Regions from separate parts of the Homo sapiens genome. Here regions 2, 3 and 4 are each linked to region 1. Evidence: promoter capture Hi-C in human tissues and cell types (Jung and others, 2019). All regions are on one chromosome and are shown on one strand. Each heading gives the region's core, a stretch centred on a gene start or on the middle of the fragment in contact. The rest is flanking DNA. Distances are from core to core; before and after follow the strand shown.

What was found. The method cuts DNA at HindIII sites, captures the fragments that hold promoters and counts their contacts. A contact is called where the count stands out against the background at its distance.
Region 2: a fragment that was not itself captured here is called in contact with the fragment with the promoter of APBB2 in region 1 in 1 of the 25 tissues and cell types used here (mesenchymal stem cells).
Region 3: a fragment that was not itself captured here is called in contact with the fragment with the promoter of APBB2 in region 1 in 1 of the 25 tissues and cell types used here (hippocampus).
Region 4: a fragment that was not itself captured here is called in contact with the fragment with the promoter of APBB2 in region 1 in 2 of the 25 tissues and cell types used here (hippocampus and liver).

Annotation. Positions count from the first base shown.
Region 1 is chr4:41,213,149-41,215,848 of GRCh38, reverse strand. APBB2 (amyloid beta precursor protein binding family B member 2) reads left to right here and starts at 1,307. Exons shown (of 18, transcript NM_004307.2): 1 at 1,307-1,444. RefSeq lists silencers at 1,043-1,212, 1,623-1,932. The HindIII fragment of the contact is 7,499 bases long and covers 1-2,700 here.
Region 2 is chr4:40,791,992-40,794,691 of GRCh38, reverse strand. It overlaps NSUN7 (NOP2/Sun RNA methyltransferase family member 7), which reads right to left. Exons shown (of 12, transcript NM_024677.6): 9 at 216-317. Among named protein-coding and RNA genes, the nearest start is that of NSUN7, 43 kb to the right of the region's middle. The HindIII fragment of the contact is 3,782 bases long and covers 1-2,700 here.
Region 3 is chr4:41,533,059-41,535,758 of GRCh38, reverse strand. It overlaps a transcript of LIMCH1 not described here. Among named protein-coding and RNA genes, the nearest start is that of LIMCH1, 3.7 kb to the left of the region's middle. The HindIII fragment of the contact is 5,667 bases long and covers 1-2,700 here.
Region 4 is chr4:41,605,593-41,608,536 of GRCh38, reverse strand. It overlaps LIMCH1 (LIM and calponin homology domains 1), which reads right to left. Exons shown (of 32, transcript NM_001330672.2): 4 at 2,533-2,643. The coding sequence starts at 2,541. Among named protein-coding and RNA genes, the nearest start is that of LIMCH1, 69 kb to the right of the region's middle. The HindIII fragment of the contact is 3,635 bases long and covers 1-2,944 here.

The sequences.
Region 1 (2,700 bases), core at 58-2,557:
CTCCCATCCCTTCGTAACAACCTCACTGAGTCTGCATGAGGGTCCCTCTATACACTCTATTCGCACCTTGTGCATTTCCCTCCCAGCACTCTACCTGTTTGAAATAACCGTTTTGAGTGATTATTTGATAGGTGTCTGTCACCCGGCCGGACTATAAATTCCATGAAAGCAGGGGCCTGGGCTTTTAAATTCACCACTATCCTCAGGCCTAGTACAAGACCTCGTGGATCCTTAATAAACTCATGTAGGAAAGAATAAAGTAATGCCCACCCCACTGCATAGAGTCCTCATAGGAAGAATCACGTGAGTTTTTAATTCGAGATCCTTGGTAGGACTGTGTGTGTGTGTGTGTATGGGTAGGGTTCTCTAAAGTGTATAGTCCTCACACCAGCAGCATCAGCATCCCATGGGAACTTGTTAGATATACAGATGCTTGGGCCCCACCACATATCTACCCATTCAGAGACACAGATTGGGACTCAGGGATTTGTACTTCAGCAAACCCTCCAGGCGATTCTGATCCAGGCTCCAGTTTGACAACCGCTGCCCTGGTGAAGAGCAATCCTAAGGATACTTTGGGGATGTCATTCACAGCGTCTGGGGCAGAGCACGGTTTACCGTTTACTGAGACTCGACTCTTATCAGGGCTTTGTTTGCACGCTTACAATTAGAGTTATAGATAATATTATTGGCAATGGAAAGGAAAACCTCCTTTTCCTCTCCGGCAGTTGTATCTCTCCCCTGATATTATCTTGTGATTTCCGGATCAAAGAAGAGTGTGTGTGCGGCATATGCCTGGGGGTGGGGATAGGAGGTAGAAGGAAGGAGAAGGTGTCGCCTACAACTTGCAGTTAGCCTGGGTGGGTGTGGGCAGCTCTCCTGTGGGGACATTTTCCTATTGCAAGGGAATGCTGGCGTGTGGGAGAAAAGCCAGGGCTAAGGTAACCCAACTGCCTTTTGGTGCAGACAGACACCAGCCACACGGAGGGGATACCCGGGCTGCACTGCACGTCCTGCCTTTGGGTCTTACTGGGGGACCCATTGCCTCCCTGCGTGTTCCCAGGCGATTGGGGAGGGTGCCTCCCGCAGGCCCTGCCGCCTCCACCTGCAGGGGTCGCCCTGGGAGCGCGGCCCGCCTCCTTCTGCCCGGCCCCCACCCCCCGGCCCCGCCTTTCTCCCATTCGGCCCCCTCCCCGCCGGGTCCCTCCAGCCTTCCCTCGCGCAGCCGCTGCCAAAGCCTGGAGAAGTGGAATCTCGTCAGCGCCGCTCCCTGCGCGGGACTCGCGGAACGGCACTGAGCATGCTCAGTTGCCGGAGCCCGTTCTGGTCTCAAGTAGGAAGCTAGTGCGCTGTAACCGCATCTGATCTGGGCGCTCCGGGAAGGGCGAGACTGGAGCAGAGCCGCTGGGCGCCGGAGCCGAGGCGAGCGCCGCGCGCACCACTGGTGAGCCCAGCTTTCTTCCTTGCCTTTGCCCCGGATTCCGGGGCAGCACGAGAGTGCTGGGGAAACACCCGGGTAGCGGCAGCAGCGTGCGGCGAGCGGCTGCGGGTTCCCCCGGCGGCTTCTCCTCTGCTCCCGGCCCCGGGGCTCCGCGGCCACTGCTGCCCGCTCAGCCGCAGCCACACCTGCAGCAGCTGCCGCGGCATCTGCAGCGGGGCGCCTGCTGCGGAGTCCCGTGCGCCCTGCGCCCGCGCCGCAGGGCCAGTGGCACGGCGACTGCGGGCTCACTCTCCTTGACTTCCATCCCTCCCGCTTCCCGGCGCCCTCTTTCCCTCAGCAGCCCCGGCTTGGCAGGGCCTGGGGCGGGGGAGACCGGGTTGGAGGCGGTGCGCCCGGGTGGGGACTGCAGAGGGGAAAAGTGAGGGTGGGCGCCTGCGGGAAGAGCGCACACCCCCTTGTCCTGGCACCGGCCTCCGCTGTGCCGCTCGGCTGTCTCTCCTGGGCGGCAGCGCGCTCCTGCCGGGGAGTTGGAGCCGGGGTTGGCTTCTCCACGAGGGGTTCAGAGGCCAGCCCATGAGACATGAAAGGGGGGAAAAGTTCCTTTTCCCCCTCGGTGGCAGAGAGAGCGTTTAACTAGAAAATGGCTGTGCATAGGGGACCGACTCCAGGAAACTGGCCACTGGGACCCGAAAGCCCCTGCGCTGCCCACCGGGCGGAATGGAGGGTGGTACGCTAGAAATGACATTTGTGCGGCGAGAACAGAGCTGGACGGAGGGAAGGATGCTGAGACCCATAGAAACAATGAAAGGTGGTCTTCACGTCGGTGAAGTGGTGTAGACTACGGGTTCGGGGCAAACAGCCGAGGGAGCATGGGACTAGAATTCAAAAAAATAAATTAATTTGGATAAATCATATGTGGAGTTGTCACCGACCGTTCTGTAGTCAAGTTCTGCGCGGTTTTAGAGCCACGACTGTCACAGACGTTTTTGGATGGATTGAGTGGTTGAGGAGGGTTAAAATTGAGAGGAGAATAAGGTCAGTGTCGGAAGCTCCAACTGGGCTCTCGGAGGGGACAGTTTGTTTAAGTCCCTCAGTCACTGGCTTTACATTGTGTCTAATTACTTACGTGAAATACCCAAAGGATTATCATAAAATGATGCCATCGGTGGTGTTTGAATTCCAAGGAATGAGGAAACTTTGTGAGGTTGGCATGGGTTTATCATTTGTTTTAATATTTCACTGATTTAAAAAAAACAAAC
Region 2 (2,700 bases), core at 51-2,550, 420 kb after region 1:
CTAACCTGTTTAAAATTACAGTAAAGCATATATTCTAAAAACAGATTAAATTGGTAAAGATAAATATTTTGTTATTTGAAGGCAGTAAGACTGAATGTTCTGGAAAATGTGCTCATGGCTCACACTTCATTGCTTGATTATAATAGATCGTGAAAGACTAATATTTCTAAAATGTACACCTTATTTTAACAAGATGGTGCCTATGACAACCTTACATTTCATTGCATGTGTTAGCTGTTCATACTGCTGTTGAGCAAGAACGTGAAGTTTGTCCACTGAGATGCCTCCTTGAGAGTGATCTTTAAGGAATTCTGTATCTGAATTTTAAAAAGAAATGCTTTTAAATATAGCACCATTAAAAACTTTTTACATATTGTTATCATCATATAATTTTTCAATCATTTTGCCTACCAATAAAAGTGTTTCATGGAAAATATCTATTAAAACTAAATAGATATTAAAATGTTGACTTAAAAATTAGAACAATAAAGTTAATTCTGTTTCATTTTAATATTGCTTTTCAAAAACAATATTGAAAATATTTAATATTGTTTTTCTCCAAGTTGCTATGAGATAGTCATCCAAGTAGTCATATAAGTCATTTAGACACAGAAGAGAAAATGCCGTCAGTCTCGAGACTAATACTGGATAGAGAAAATAAGATTTATTTTCCAAGATAAAAACGAATGGGCTATAGTCAGATCTGGGAACACACAAGGATATGGTTTAAAATACTAACTTTCCAAAAGAAACTTTGGAAGAAAAAATTCAGAAAAGCAAATGTTATGTCTTCATAACAGATTAAGAAATAATGTCTTACATTTTTTAATTTTTGAAAAATAATTTAAATATATGTATTGACAATATTAATGAAGATATACTGAATGCTACTTTATGTAGATTATTTTAACGACCTCTTGAAGAATTACTAGCCCTTCTAACATTGAGATAATTGTTTAAACATACATTAAACAACTTGTCTAAGGTTATATAGCTACTAAGTGGACAGCCAGGATTCTAACTCAGAAATCTAACCAGAGGACCCAAATTTTTAAACTCTGTATTATACTGCCTCTCTAGAACTCACTAGAGCATGACAGCCAATTATTTATACCATGTATGTGGCTGTTGCCCATTCCAGTACTATCACTAAAGGTTAATTAAACTCCATTTCTTCCCAATTTAGTTTTACATTTCATGAGGTTTTGTTTTTTGTTTTTTGTTATTGTTGTTGTTGTTGCTGTTTTTTTGAGACAGGATCTCACTCTGTCATCCAGGCTGGAGTGCAGTGGCACCATCTCGGCTCACTGCAACCTCTGCCTCCTGGGTTCAAGCAATTCTCATGCCTCAGCCTCCTGAATAGCTGGGACTACAGGTGTTCACCATGATGCCCGGCTAATTTTTGTATTTTTAGTAGAGACTGGGTTTCACTATGTTGGTCAGGCTGAACTCGAACTCCTGGCCTCAACCGATCTACCCACCTCAGCCTCCCAAAGTGGTGGGATTACAGGTGTGAGCCACTGTGCCTGGCCTACATTTCACATTTTTTTTCTCTGTTCTAAAACTATCCATTACTTGTTAAAGGACTATTACAAATTATTATACTCCAAAGTCGTATTATCTATTTCTTTAATTCTATCTTAAAATAATTCCAAGTCGTTAGCAAGGACCAACTTCATATATTTCTCAATGGTTCTAATATTTTTCGATGTTAAAATGTTTTTAAAACTAATTCCTTATTGTTCCATTCTACCTTGTATCTAAGTTTAATAAAATAATCTTTCGGATTCACCCCCACTAAGTTTCTGGCTAACGTTCCACGTTCCCACCAGAGTCACTAGGTCGGCAGCTCCTTATTTGCTCAAGCTTTTAGCTCCTCAGAGTACAGGTTCCTTCAAAAGCCCGCTTACTTCAGGATACGACAACTTTTTTTTTTTTAAATGAGATGGAGTCTTGCTGTCGCCCAGGCTGGAGTGCAGTGGCGCGATCTCGGCTCACTGCAGGCTCCGCCCCCCGGGGTTCAAGCCATTCTCCTGCCTCAGCCTCCCGAGTAGCTGGGACTACAGGCGCCCGCCACCTCGCCCGGCTAATTTTTTGTATTTTTAGTAGAGACGGGGTTTCACCGTGTTAGCCAGGATGGTCTCGAGCTCCTGACCTCGTGATCCGCCCTCCTCGGCCTCCCAAAGTGCTGGGATTACAGGCGTGAGCCACCGCTCCCGGCCAGTATACGACAACTTCTTAGCTTATCCTATCATCTCCTCATCAAGGCTTTCAAAACATTACCAGTACCTAGGAAATGTTTTCCTTTCCCCACTTTCCTTATTTGTATTTTCCTCTGGGCCTTTCTCCTCTAGCCTTTAGTTTATTTTTATTCTGTGGTTTATTTTTTTTCTGGATTTCCACCTCAAAATGGCCCAGGATAAGGCCAGAGTCTCACAGTTCTGAGCTCTAGTTCTCCTGACTGCTATGCTTATTATAGCTGCTATTTCTTCCCCCTTTTTTCCTTCCCCCTTTTCTTTCAGTGTCTACTAATTGTTCTTTGATTATTTCTTAAAGTTCATCTAGAAATTTTCTCAGCCTACCTACCATTCTACCATCTGAATTGGTTATTCTTTGGCTGAAGTCTCTCTGGAAAGAAATTTTCTATAGCAAGTCAAAATTCCATGTGGTACAGTGTAAACCCAGTTAAAGATAGTGTCG
Region 3 (2,700 bases), core at 135-2,634, 320 kb before region 1:
AGACTTCAGCTAGCAAGTCTAGGCATTCAAAACACACGTGAATAAGAATTTAAGGGCTTAGCTGGCTAACCCACTGTTACGAGCTAAATTGTCTCCTCCTCCCTCCCCCAATTCGTATCTTGAACTCCTAACCCGTTCTAACTCAGAATGTGACTGTAGTGACTGTAAGAAGGTAATTAAGTTATATGAGGTCATCTGAGGGGGCCCTAATCCAATACGACAGTGTCCTTATAAAAAGGCAAAATATGGACACAGATACATACAGGGGAAAGACCACGTGAAGATGCAGGGAAAGGCAGCCATCTGGGAGCCAAGGAGACAGGCCTTAGAACAAACCCACTCTGATCACACCTTGATCTCAGACTTCTAACCTACAGAATTGACAAAATAAATTTCTATTATTTAAGCCATCCAATCTGTGGTACTTTGTTATGGCCATCAGAGCAAATTAATATACTCATCTAGTACTAAGAATGAAATATCAGGGGTATAAGAGAGGCTGCAGGGCACAAGATTGGATGGATATGATATCTCAATGAATTGTCAATTATATGAAGATCTTTCTTTTCTTTTCTTTTTTTTTTTTTTTTTTTTTTGTGACAGGGTCCGACTCCCATCACCCAGGCTGGAGTCCAGTGGCACATTCAAAGCTCACTGCAGGCTTGACTTCCCAGGCCCAGGTGATTCTCCTACCTCAGCCTCCTAAGTAGCTGGGACTACAGGCATGCACAACCATGCCTGGCTAATTTTTTGTATTTTTAGTAAAGACAAGATTTTGCCATGTTGCCTAGGCTGGTCTTGAACTCCTGGGCTCAAGCGATCACCTGCCTTAGGCTCCCAAAGTTCTGGGATTATAGGCATGAGCCACTGCACCGGTCTTTCTGTCATGATTTTCAATTCTAAGTGCAATTGCTAATGACTTTTCCTGTAGTCTCAAACTCCTTTTTTCACTCCTTTCTCCATATCCCAGTCCCTGCCAATGTGGATCAAACACTCCAAAGACAATACTATAATTTGGAGGGGGAGGGGAACTTCATAGTGGTTATAGAAAAAAAAAATATGTCTTCATTTATACTGAAGCATAGGATTTAACTTCAAAATAGTCCATCCATTAACCTAGTCCAATTTTTTGTAACTTTTTCCTTGAGTTCCAAACCAGCATTTCTAATAGTCTGCCAGACATCTGCACATGAATATCTTTTAGAGATAGCCAACTCAATATGTCCAAAAGAGAATGCATCTTTTCTTTTGGAGCTCATTTCTCATTCCCATGTTCCCATGATTCCTATTAATGGCATCAGTACCCTCCACACTGCTCAAGTCCAAAATGCAAATGTCATCTTCCTAAAATTATCTGTTGTATTTCATCAGTTCTAAGATGTACACCTTTTTTAACCTCTGAAATAAAGATGCATTTTTTTCATTGCCAGTGTCTTAGCATTGTGTCATCATTGAATTGGCAGCTTTTTTAAATGAGCTATAATTTTTAAAAATGGTGTGTGTCATCATTGATGGCATATTACATTTAGTGAAAAGTAAATCCTGTCTCCTCATCTCTAATCCCACTGCTTCTACTAAGGTTTAAGTGTCCATCCTCTCTCATTTGGACTACTTATCTCCTACTTGACTTTTATTGCTGGTATCTTGCCATAATCAGCTTTCTATACGGCCACCTCAGTTATCTGGAACACGAGATTCCCTTGTTTTCAGTGGCTTTTACTGCACACAAAATGAGTCCAAACACCCCCAGATGGCATTTCTGGTCTCAGCTTACTATTCCTGGTCTAGTTTCCAAGCATGGATTTTCTCAGGGACTCTGCGTCCAGCTGCAGCCACTGGACCCAGTGCAAATAATGCAAATGATAGCCACTTCCAGATAAGACCCAGGTCCTTCTGACTCAGAGCCTTTCTCATTCCATGCCCTGAAGCTAGTTGTTCTTCCTCTAACTCCATGATCTTCACTATTTGTAGACGCCCTGTTCAAATCCCACCCCTTCCAAAGTTCTTAATCACAAATCAAAATTTCTTCCTTGGTCTTTCTTGCATATTATACTTCATTAACATTTCACAGTCTACCTTACATTTGACCTTTCTTCTATATTTGTCTTCTAGAAAGTAGTCTCCTAAAAGGCAGGAATTATGTCTTGAAGTGGATTTTTACTTGGAAGGCAAGAGAGAGAACACATCATCTCTATTTGGTATATATGTGCAGAAGAAAATTAGAAAAAAGTCCTTGGATGTCATGCAAGAAAGGTTAACCAAGGAAAACTGTGTTATCTTTAAAGTCCTATAAGCACAAGGAGCCGGTGTTCAGGAGAATGAGAGATCTATGCCCTGGCTGCTCAATAGACGGATACAACCATTTCATTCATCGGGACAAGCAGCTTCTGAAGAGCTCCCAGAGATCCCTTCCTCCTGGCATTCAGACCCTTGTGGGACCTCCTCCCCTTGAATGTGGGCTGGGCCTAGCAACTTGCTTTTAATTAATAGAATAAGGCAGAACTGACAAAACATCACTTCAGAGATTAGGTTATAAAGGACTGTGACTTCCATCTCACTTGTTGTCTCCCTCCCTTTCTCTTTCTTTCTTTCTCAGGCCCTTCCTGCTTGCTCACTCTGATGATGCAAGCTGCAACCCTGTAAGCTGTTCTATAGAAAGACCCACATGGCAAGTACACAAGGATGGCTTTGGCCAACAGC
Region 4 (2,944 bases), core at 112-2,611, 390 kb before region 1:
AAAAATGAATATAAAAATTTGTGGATAATCTCCTTTGTGAAAGAAAAAAAACTAATTTCAAATTTATTTCAGCCTGCATATGTGCAGAAGAGATTACAGTTGTCCCTCAATATCTGCTCTCCTAACAAAAATGCCTACAGTTTTTAGCTGAAATAAAGTCTACTTTCCCCAAGTCTTTGCTTGCAGCTAGATATGGATGCATGACCAAGTTCAAGTCTGTAAGATGTAGCTATGTGTGTAGTGTGTAATTTCCCAGAGGTGTGTTTAAAGGGAGAGCATGGAATCTTCTCCCCGCCATTCCTCCCTTTTCTTGGCTGAATGTGGACATGATGGCTAAAGCCTGAACAGCCATCTTGGATCAGCAGGTGAACAGCCATGGGTTGAGGTTGTTGGTACAAAAAGACAAAGAAGCTTGGGCCTTCTGTTGGTGAAAAGACATGGAACCCCACATCAGCCCTGGACTGCTCATGTCCACGTCTCATTTATGTGAATTAGAAATAAAATTGTTGTCTTATTTTATCTGTTATTTTGAGGCTTTTGTGTTTCCCAGCTGAACCCGATCCTAACTGACAAAATGAGATTATATATATCACATATAAAACTAGTATTTCCAGGTGCTCAGATAGTCCAGTGAAGTTCAAGTCATTTTCTCTCTAGATGGAGATATGGCAGTATCATGGCTGGCCATTTTTGCTAAGAGTCATGTATCCAGGGATACTACTTACTCCACCATGTCCTGTGATGTTACCTACATTCAACAAAAAGGGTAACAGCTGTTAACAACAGGTCATTTTACAGCAGTTGAAGAAACTAACTGTAGAAAGAGAAGCTAGGAGAGTTGAAGAAACCAATAGCTGCTCAGATTCTACAGGAGCTGGACTAGTAGTAAGAAATGTCAATCATGAGAATAAATCAGATTCCAACAGAATCTAGCAGGGGAACTGTGAGACAAAGCTTCATGACCCATCTATTATTATTCAAGTCCAAATTTAATATAAAAACAATAAACATTTAGACATCTCAAATCCAGACTGGATGTTAGATGAGAAATTAAAGGGCAAATAAGAGGTGAGACTGAGAAGCAATGAGTTGTGCTTCATTGTGTGTCTGTGTTTATTTAATTTTTAAAGGAATTCAGCTTAAAGTACCTTGTGTATGTGCGTTATGACCAATATGAAAGCTTTGGCCATTTATAAATACATGAGCCAGACTGGCCTTAGCCAAATGTGAAGAACTATCAGGACCATTAGCTTTAATTTAAGGAAAGGAAAATAAATGTTTAGAAAATTGGAACCAATTCTTGCTTTCAGTATTAAAAGAAAAATTGCAAGGAACTGAATGTTTCTAGTTCATTTATTTTGCATACTAGAGAAATGAGGAAGAGTAAGGCCTCAATTATTTGTCCTCTAATGTGGACTTTATCCAAAATGCCTGGAGGGGCCGGGTGCGGTGGCTCACACTTGCAATCTCAGCACTTTGGGAGGCCAAGGTGGGTGGATCACCTGAGGTCAGGAGTTCAAGACCAGCCTGGCCAACACGGTGAAACCCTGTCTCCACTAAAAATACAAAAATTAGCCAGGCTTAGTGGTGGCTGCCTATAATCCCAGCTACTCGGGAGACTGAGGCAGGAGAATCACTTGAATCTGGGAGGCGGACGTTGCAGTCAGCTGAGATTGCGCCACTGCACTCCAGCCTGGGCGACACAGCAAGAATCCATCTCAAAAAAATAAAATAATTAAAAAAGTACATGGAGGTCCATTATAAATAAGCCTTACCTGTACACTAAGGCGGGTTGGGAGGGCCTCTCCTGGGTAACACTATGTACTAGCCATTTGTATGAGTTGTATATTGCTGGACCTTCAGATGAAACATTCAGGCAAGTAGTACACATGAAACATTCAACTGTTTCCTTGACAAATCCCTACCTTAGGTCAGTCTTTTCTATACTCAAAGAAACAAATGAAGCTTTTAACAATGTATGAAATGTTTTCCAAATTCCTATGTCATTCAAAAACAGTGGCTATAACATGCACATGTTAGAGGAGAATGCATTTAATGTATCCCGCCTTGTCCAGAGCGTATGCCAAGGTAAGAGCTTGGTTCACGTTACCTCACCCACATCAAGGCCCCAGTGGGTAAGCAAAATGCCCTTTAGCACAAAAGTGCAGAGCGAGTCTTCATTTTTGCATAATACTGCATTGTTTAATTCAAGCATTATTCCCCCAAGAAAACAAGCACTGAGCATCTTGGCATACAAAGGCATATACTGATAGATTGAATTTGCTTTTTTGGAATTAAAAAGTTGGATGGAGCTCAGAACTCCTGTTCTCTGAAGGGTATGAAAGTGCAGGTAGGTGTGACATGCATGAGGCAAAGATGTCATTGGTAAGACAAGTGATCGTTTCCTTGAGTGCATATCTTTGGCTCATACCATTCCACAACCCAGTACTCTAGTAATCTTAAAAACAAGCAAATGTGTAGCTTTCCCACCTTGTCTAACGCTTATGGGATAAAGAAGAAAAGCCAAGTTACCTTTCGCATCTGAGCCAACAATCCTTCAAACTCCTTCAGGTTTAGTGTCGTTCCGCTGTAGGATGTGCAGCTGTTTGCTGCTTTTCCCAGCCAGTAAATGGTAACTAATACCTGTGGAACAAAACGCACAAGAGCAGATTTTTCCCTCAAGAATGACGTTTAAACTAAGGAGTCAATAATGTACCACTAACAGGAAGGCAGGAAGGAAAGAGCTGATTTACATCGATTTTAAAAAACCACCACCCATGAGGTATCCATTAAATGTAAAATCACTTTAATAAGAACCCAATGCCATGTCAGGCAACACAAACACGGTTGAGTAGTTAAAACGACTCCAGCGTTAGGGAAAGTTAGGTAGTGAGGAAATGATCTCTAAGACAGCAAGAAGGAAAAATGAATCTACCCACATTAT